Linked DNA regions of Homo sapiens: all the other regions are linked to region 1. The links are contacts of gene promoters, found by promoter capture Hi-C in blood cells and fetal thymus (Javierre and others, 2016). All regions are on one chromosome and are shown on one strand. The core of a region is centred on a gene start or on the middle of the fragment in contact, and the rest is flanking DNA. Distances in the headings are between cores, read along the strand shown. Region 1 holds the start of KMO (kynurenine 3-monooxygenase). Region 2 holds the start of DESI2 (desumoylating isopeptidase 2). Region 3 holds the start of DRC8 (dynein regulatory complex subunit 8).

What was found. The method cuts DNA at HindIII sites, captures the fragments that hold promoters and counts their contacts. A CHiCAGO score of 5 or more calls a contact.
Region 2: the fragment with the promoter of DESI2 here is called in contact with the fragment with the promoter of KMO in region 1 in 1 of 17 cell types (neutrophils); the score reaches 5.9 in neutrophils.
Region 3: a contact is called between the fragment with the promoter of DRC8 here and the fragment with the promoter of KMO in region 1, in 1 of 17 cell types (monocytes). The highest score is 5.1, in monocytes.

Annotation. Positions count from the first base shown.
Region 1 is chr1:241,530,937-241,533,816 of GRCh38, forward strand. KMO (kynurenine 3-monooxygenase) reads left to right here and starts at 1,442. Exons shown (of 15, transcript NM_003679.5): 1 at 1,442-1,562. The coding sequence starts at 1,509. RefSeq lists an enhancer at 1,025-1,174. The HindIII fragment of the contact is 7,761 bases long and covers 1-2,880 here.
Region 2 is chr1:244,651,713-244,654,412 of GRCh38, forward strand. It overlaps DESI2 (desumoylating isopeptidase 2), which reads left to right and starts at 1,414. Exons shown (of 5, transcript NM_016076.5): 1 at 1,414-1,643. The coding sequence starts at 1,602. RefSeq lists enhancers at 85-658, 918-1,077 and a silencer at 1,158-1,927. The HindIII fragment of the contact is 4,542 bases long and covers 1-1,959 here.
Region 3 is chr1:244,968,256-244,971,105 of GRCh38, forward strand. DRC8 (dynein regulatory complex subunit 8) reads left to right here and starts at 1,427. Exons shown (of 8, transcript NM_032328.4): 1 at 1,427-1,788; 2 at 2,074-2,188. The coding sequence starts at 2,164. LOC124900416 reads right to left here and starts at 2,315. Exons shown (of 4, transcript XM_054328428.1): 1 at 2,071-2,315; 2 at 2,000-2,069; 3 at 1-1,997. The coding sequence starts at 2,282. The coding sequence ends at 1,731. EFCAB2-AS1 (EFCAB2 antisense RNA 1) reads right to left here and starts at 2,614. Exons shown (of 2, transcript NR_111907.1): 1 at 2,557-2,614; 2 at 1-1,724. RefSeq lists enhancers at 1-281, 2,720-2,850 and silencers at 1,490-1,629, 1,900-2,079, 2,090-2,449, 2,460-2,549. The HindIII fragment of the contact is 4,895 bases long and covers 109-2,850 here.

The DNA.
Region 1 (2,880 bases), core at 192-2,691:
TAACAGGGGGCACGTTAGACTTCTGGGATTCTGGCAATATTCTCTCTCTGCACCTAAATGGTAGTTACATGGATACTTGCTTTACAGTAACTTATTATACTGTTCATTTGTGTTATAGTTCATAATTTTTAAAAGATTTTTTAACAATGATACATATTGATACTGAGGAATTGATACATATTCTCTACATATTGATATTGAAGAATTCTCAAGCTATATGTTGTAAAGTGAGAAATATGATGTGGAAAAAGTTTTTAAATGTATGTTTAAAAAGAAAGGAAGGAAGGGAATGAGAGAGTGAGAGAAAGAGAGAGAGAAAAGGAGAGAGAGGAAGAACAAGAAAGACATAATCAACGTGTAGAAGAATACGGTAACCCACACACCAAAACAGTTGTTGTCTTTGGGCAGGAGGAATAGGTGGCCAAGGGTCAAGGTTAGCAGGATTACTATTCACCGTGTACTCTTTTGTGTCTTTAATTTCATGCCATGTTAATGTATTACCTATTCAAAATAAATAAAATACCTAATCATGCTTATCCACAAGGGGTCACTATTGAATGCCATTTAACTCTAGTTCCTAACCAGGGAAAAAAACGTTCTGAATTCTTTATGTGCTTAACAGGAAGTGAAGAAACAACTTCATTTATGTTCTTATTTTACATTACACCACATCATGTTCCAGAAAACAATTGCCATTCGCAAATCATGCACAAAAGTATAACATTTAAAACGGAGTGAAAAAGACAAAAAAGTGAATAGATAATATGAAGTCGGGAATGAGTTTACAGAAGCGTTGTGTCAGTCATCTCCCCTAGTGGTAATTAGACTCTAAATTTTCGATTCTAAAATTAGATTCTAAATTTTCTAGCATCTGGGCTGAAAAAAAAAAGGGGAAGTATGGTCAGTTACACAATTCAAAATGTTGATCGGGAGAATATTAAGACCTTGCAGAGAATTTTCCCTGGTAGAGCCTGTTAAAAACAATCCATGAGGACCCTTTAGATGAAATTTTTGATTGGTCTTAACCACAAAAATGATCCACAGATGAATTATGAAACCATGTCATCTTACTCTCTAAGGGAGGTATAAGATGTTTTTGGACTTCAGATGAGAAGGGCTCCATTCATGGTTAATCATGAATGAAAACGAAACTAAGAATATATGCTGTAGAAAAAGAAGAAGAAAAGCCACAAGACTGCTTAAAAATTTCTGTGTCTTACACAGAAGATAGAAAAAATAGAGTGTCTCCAATTGGATGGATTTTTTAAAAAATTTGGTTATTGTAATGGATTTATTTTTTCTTAGAGCTGAGCTGATTGTACTTTGGCCAACTAATGGGTTAATACTGTCAAGGGAAATTAGCCCTGACTAAACATTGCCGCTGGCTCATGAATGCACTAGGCTTGGGGCAGTATAAAAACTCAGAGAAATCAGTGTGTAGGAGACACAGAAATCAGTGTCACTCAGTGACAGAAGCAACAATAATTGTGAAAAATACTTCAGCAGTTATGGACTCATCTGTCATTCAAAGGAAAAAAGTAGCTGTCATTGGTGGTGGCTTGGTAAGAATTTTCAGATGGATTACTATTGTTGGTGGTATTATATTAACTATTATTACTCGTAATGATTATTATTCGTCACTTCTGCAAATTGTTAATTTTCTTGTGAAAACTCTGATATTTAAATACAGCTATTTTGTTTATTTTTTTAATATTTTTATTTTCATAGATTTAATATAGTATGAGTTTTAATCTGTTCTTTTTCAGGAAAGGTATTTTATAGCCATTAAATACAAAGGTTTCTGTTTTCCCTCATCATTTTGGTTTAGGATTTGTTAAAAAGCAAAAATAATGCAAATTGAATTTGATTTTATCCCCAAATTGGCTATGTTTTTAGGAACAGGAATTAGTCTCAATATTCATTTTAATAAAAACATTTGTTCCGCTTTGTTTAATAACTCAGTTAATGCTGTCTAATGAGAATAAAAGGGTCAAGAAACATGAAGCTAACGTCAAAGTATCATGTTGAATGTTCACTAGTTATATGAGTAATTGGGAATAAGATTTATGTGGTCGCCTGACTTACTTGACTCTTCCAGTGGAGCACCTAAGACAGTGGAGTGAGGTGTTCACCTCTCACTGAGCACGTGACGTAAAGGTGCTGGGGCTTCCCCCATACCTAACAAGACGGAAGGAGAGGTCACTCTCTGCTTTCATAGTTATGGTGCCAAAGGTAGTTCTGTTTAACATGGGTCTGCTCCGATTCAACTTTGCTTTTTCCCATCTCAGCAGAATTTCTGTTTCAGAATACAAACATCCCAGTTAGTCAAGGTTAAATCATTTCCCTATCACCTTTGGTCAAATCATTTGGAGACTTTTCATTAATTATTCATATATCCACTCAACAAAAAATTTATTGAGGGCGTAACACTGTTCTAGGCTGAATATAGATGGTATATTTTATGCCACACATGTATTTATACAGTATATGCTGTCTTTTGTTCTGCCTTCCTTAGTGTCTTTTCCCCAAAGTGCTAGAACAGTTCTTTTAATATTTCTGATTCTAAATTTTCATTTAGAAATGCTATCACATGATGTGTTGGTCACTGGTTGGGACATGTGTCGTCACTGCTTCATACTAGGCTTGTGTCCAATCTGTCCTATCAAAATGTTGCACAAAATGAGAATTCATGTGTTCAACAAAATCTGATTACTATGTACCAATATTGTTTTAGGTAGTAGGGATGCGAGGGTGAGAATTCCAGAGAAGAAAAAGACAAGGAAGAAGAAAACAAATAAGACAATTTCAGTTAAAGAGAAGCACTATGAAAGAAACGAAAACAGGGTAGTGCTGTAGAGAGTATCTTTGGGAGTACCTGTT
Region 2 (2,700 bases), core at 164-2,663, 3.1 Mb after region 1:
GTCACAGTCCAGTGCAGTCAGTGGGGGTAGACACCACCAAAGAGTATAATTTGGGAGACTGGAAATAATTTGTGGCTATTTTCACAATCTGCCACACTCATCTCCCTATTTCCACCTCCTTTGCCTCTCTGAAATCCATTTTCCACACAGCAACCCAAGTAATCATTTTTAAACACACGCACACTCATTTCACTCCCTGGTCCAAACTTATGGCTTCGTTTAAAATACAACCCCTGTTATGAATTTTAAAATCCTTCCGGGATCTGGCCTCTGCCTACCTGCCCAGCTCATCTAGTACCGTCGACTCCTTGCCTACTGTGTCCCAGCAAGAGTGATCTTTTGTTTCCTTGAATACAGAAAACTCCTTCATGCTTCAGATCTTTGCATTTGTTCCCTTTGACTGAAATACTCCTCCCCCTCATATCTGCGGGGCTGGCTTTGTCATTCACATTTCAGCTTAAAACTCATTACAGCGATCTTCCCCGTGCAGCCAATTTAAGAATGACTTCACCTTACTTAAATTTTCTGCAAAGCACATACCAGTGATATTTTGTATGTCCCTGTTCCTGTTTATCACGGCATTCCCGAGGGCCTACAACACTGCCTGGCACATAGGAAGCACATAACAAACATTTGTTGAATTAATGCAGAGCTGCATACTACGTCCCAGGATTGTGCTAAGCTACGGTTACTGTACCCTTCCCATCTCAGCAGGATAGTTTCACAAAATGTAAATTCCACATTGAGGATTAATTGGATGCACGTTACACCTCATCCCACACCAGTAACTCGTCTTCCTCTATTTCCCCACCACTCCCCTTGCCAAATAAAAGGTGAGGAAGCATTTGGAAAACTTAGGGTCATCACTCTGGTCTTTTGCCACATTTCGCTGGCTTCATCGAGCTCAACGCAACATGAACTACTAACAGCAGCAGCACCTGAGATGAGAGGGTGAATGAAGGTAGGAGATTTCACCGCCCGCGGGCGGCAAGGGATCTGCCGCAGCTCTAAAGCACTGCATGCTGGGAGTTGTAGTCTCCCGGGGAGGCCTGGTCTGGTAGGACCGGGGCCCCCGCGGCATGCAGGGAGTTGTAGTCGAAGGGCTGTTGAGACTCCGCCTCTGCACTTATAGTAGCAAGGGGGAATCCTCACTGCATGCTGGGAACTGTAGTCTTCCTGGGTCCCCGTTCCTCCAGGACGCGGAGGCGCCGGAGTTGCCGCCATTTTAGGTCCCGAGGTGCGCCGGCCGAGAACCAGAGCGCAGGCGGGCTCAGTCCTGGCGCCGGGCCGGCCCCGCCCCCGGGGCGCCTGGCGCCCGCCCCTTGCTCAAGCCCCGCCTTTCCCCACGTGTCTGCCGCCTAGGGGAGGTGCCTCATCCGGAGCGGGCCGCCAACGGTCCGGCCCCGTCCGCACAGACGCTCCTGTCGGCGGCGCCCGGGAGCGGCTCGGCTGCCCGATGCTTCCGCCCCGGCTGCCGCGGGCCGGGCTGTACGCTTAGTGCCCGGCTCAGGCCCCCTGAAGCGCCCGCGGGGGTGAGAGCGGCCTCCGGCCCCGCGGAGACGGAGCGGCTTGAGGACGAGGCGGCGGCCGCGGGGAGGAGGATGGGGGCTAACCAGTTAGTGGTGCTCAACGTGTACGACATGGTGAGTGCGGCCCCTGGCGGCCCCGAGCCCTGGCCCAGGCCGGCTTCCTCTCGCCCGTGGGGCTCGGACCCCGGCCCCAGGCGCTTCCTGCCTGGCGTCTCCGCCTCCAGCCTAGTTCTCGGGGGAAGCCGGGGGTGAAGGAGGGAGTATTGTTATTTTTTAATCCTCGCACTCGTCGACGCTCCGGTGAACCCAGTCAGCCCGAGGGTTTTGGCCAAAGCTCGGGTGGGCTTGAACCTCTCCCATCCGCTCAGCTTGGACCCGACCCCGGCTCTGGGCCCGACCCCTTGGCCGACGTGCAGTGTCCTTTCGGCAAAGCTTCCGTTGCGTTTCCAACCCCACTTGCCGGCCCCCGGGGCTGCCCCGGGACCCCCGTCCCGACCGCCTGCGCTCCCAGCTCCTCTGCTTCTGCCGAACTGTCCGTCTCTCTCCATGGCTACGTCTTCAGAAACTCCCAAGCCCCTCTAAGTCCAGAAGGTCACAGCTTTCGGGTGCCTGTGCTAGAATCTCTTCAAAGGTGAACAGGAGCCAACACACCCTTTCCTTGTGTGTTAAAGGCAACCTCGTTAAAATATGAATGAGGCTAACATTTCTCAAGAAAATAGCCCAGCTGAATTATTTAGAGATCCTGGTGGTGCTCCTTTCCTACACTCTGAAGACCACTTTCCAGGTGATGCAACAGGTGACGTGACCACGGGAGAGGGAAGGGAAGAAGTTGTTTATTGTATCATCTAACTTTGGAGTATGGCAAGCACGCAGAATCGAGTCCAAGAACTGGTTTGCCTGATTTTTGCAGTGAAATGCCCCCAGAAAAAAGCACCCGGTAGAGAATTGTCGTTGCAGTTAGATGCATGTTTGGGTGTGTTTGCTTGCTTTGTTCTGTAGAATGGGTTTTTGTTCTGTAGACTGGATTAGTACCTCTGACTGCAGTGCTTAAAATTCCTTGTAAGTTGACTGACAAATGAAAAATTGCCCGTCGTTATTTTTGTTGGCTTAAAGATGCAGGAGAGCAGAAATACTACAGGCCAAGAGTCTTATACAGTTCTAAACTTTGTAT
Region 3 (2,850 bases), core at 177-2,676, 3.4 Mb after region 1:
GATCTTACTGTTTGGTAGGTGGAAATAAAGTGAACGAACGAAGGCACTGCAAATCAATGTGGGAGGCTCTATAAGCATGGGGCCACAGAGGAAAAGGCTGAGAGGGAAAGCTTCAATGACTAGGTGACTTCAAAAAGGTCATCCTGGCCAGGCACAGTGGCTCACACCTGTAATCCCAGAACTTTGGGAGGGCCAGGCAGGCGGCAGATCGCTTGAGCTCAGGAGTTTGAGAGCAGCCTGGGCAACATGGGGAAACTCTGTCTCTACAAAAAATACAAAAACTAGCCAGACATGGTGGCGCGCGCCGCTCCTCCCAGCTACTTGGGAGGTTGCGGTGGGAGGGTCACTTGAGACCGGGAGGCGGAAGTTGCAGTGAGCAGAGATCACACCACTGCACTCCATCCTGGACGACAGAGCGAGACCCTGTCTCGAAAAACAAAAGACAAAAACAAAAACAAAGGTCATCCTGCAGGACAACCAGGAGGGCACAAATGTGTGTCTGTGGGAAGCTGAAATGTTGGCGGGGGAAAAAAGCAGGGAAAGGCATTCCAGAAAAAGGAAACTGTAAACAGCACACGAAAAAGCATAGTGAATGAATAGGAAGCCTGAGACCAAACTTAGGGTTTCCTACACTTATTTCAAAGCCCTTCATTATCTATATGGAAAGGGGGAGTCTTTAAACACAAATATTTAGATCATATTGACTGAGATTTAGATATAAATGAATGCTAATAATTACTTTTCGTTATTTTGGGGTGTTAAACATTTACTGTACAAGATTGTATTCGTTTTAAGTATCTTCTAACATGAGCCATTTTGTAATGATTCAGTTGTTTATATTCAATTTCAAGTAGAATGCTGATCACAGCGCCAAATGGGTATCTTCTACAGAAAAAGTTATTTTAATAAAGAAAAATATAGTCAGTTTTAGGATTTCCTGAGAGATTATAGAAACAATAAAAGCATTAAAACTGTTAAGTCATTAAATACGAGTACCTTGTATTTTGAAGGCTCTTAAAATTTAGTTTATAAATTGCTTTTACATAACATATGCACTGAAATACCACTTAAGATTAGTTTTGAAAATAGGTGTTCGTTTCAACCACATCATTAGGTATTTTATTCAAAGCTCTTTATAAAAAGAGCTTTACTATGTTCCAGTATAGTAAACTTATCCAGAAAATAAGACAAAAATTTAACTTCATGCTATAGCTGCAAAGTTTTCGGAAAGCGGGATTTAAAACTTCCATTGTAACTTTAACTAGCGGTCATGTCAAATTTCACAACTAAGAACATTTTAACGCATGTAATACTGAGCACAACATGGGCACGTTTTTGTTGCTATGAGAACCTTCTATTTTGTATTAGACATTGCAGCCTTGACGACGCAATGTTTGTGCTATTTTGCGCATGTTTTCCTGCAGCTATTCCTCTCCTCTAGCAATAGTCGAATGGCTCTGGTTTCCTCTTGCGCCCGGCCCAGTTTTTCCGTTTTAGCTTCGGTTGTCATAGGCTGTGCTGTCGCTTTCTCTGGGAAAGGACGGTGAAGACTGGACGGGAGAAACCGGGAGGGCAGGCGCGGCCGTTCTGCAGCAGCCGGGCCGCTTCCCGGCGGGAGGCGGGCTGCGAATGGGAAGCGGGAGGAGGAGGCCGGGCCGCGGGCTGGTTCTATCACCCCCTTGGGAGCCCAGCTCTTCACCTAGCTCTCCGGCGCTTTTCAAAATCTGCAGTTAACAACAAAAATCGAGCAACGCCACGTCGCACAAACAGGACAGGAGGGGGCGAGGGGTGTGTGCGCGCGCGTGCTGTCCCCAAATGGATGAGAAATAAGGGAAAGGAGGGGTTGGGGACCGTGTGATGAAGCAACATGCTAGGCCCGGGACAAGTCCGGCTCCGGCCTCGGGTCTGGAGGGACAAGGCCGGGGGCCGGGTGGCAGACGGGGCCTCTGGTCTTCCCCCAGCGCGAGGGTCGTGGCGCGAAACGGGGACAGGGCGCGCGCTCGGAGCCTCCTCCCCGCCCCGCCCCGCCCAAGGGTCTTCCTCCCCCGGGATTCAGAGCGGCCCCTCCTCCAGGCCAGGCTCGCCGCGGGGCGCTGAGCAGGCCGGGACACCGCGGCCGAGGTTATCGTTAGGCATCTCCCAGGCGACCGGCTCCGCAGCAAGATGGCGGACGAGAAGGACAGGGAAGGTAAGGTAGGGGAGCCGGGGAGCCGCTGCCCTCGCCGCCCGCCGCGACCCCGGGCTGCACGGGGAAGCGCCGGGTGGGGTGGGCCCTCGTCCATCTGGAGTTCCCACCCGCAGGGAAAGGGCGGCCTGAGGAGGGGGCCACCCGGCAGCAGCAGTCGCCCTGCCCCCGTCCCCGTAGCCCGCCCGGCCCGCCGCTCCGCCCCGCCCCGCCCCGCCTCTCTCCCCCGCCCCGCCCCGCCTCTCTCCCCTCTTCCCTCCCTCTTCTCTCTCCCCTCCTCCCGCCTTCTTCTTTCTCCTCCCGCCCTCTTCACCCTCTTCCCCTCCTCCCGCCCCGTCCTCCTTCCCCCTCCCTCGGAGGCCGGGCCTTGCATCCTGCGCGGGCTGCGCCGGAGGCGCCGGCAGGGGGTGCTGATAATGGCGTCGTTGTTCACGGTCGCGGGGAAGCCGCCGCCGCCTCCACACTCTCGCCTGGGGTCTCGGTGCCGCAGGCGCCACGCCCGTAGCTGTCCAGGCTGTGGGCCCCGGGGGGTGGCCTGGGTGAGGAGGAGTTCTGGCCGCCTGAATCTGACGGGATCCTCTGTTTGCGCCGAAACCCCGCGCTGGCGCAGCCTGATGGCGTTCGCGGCCACCATTTTGCCTCCTTAATGAGGACGCAGGAGGACG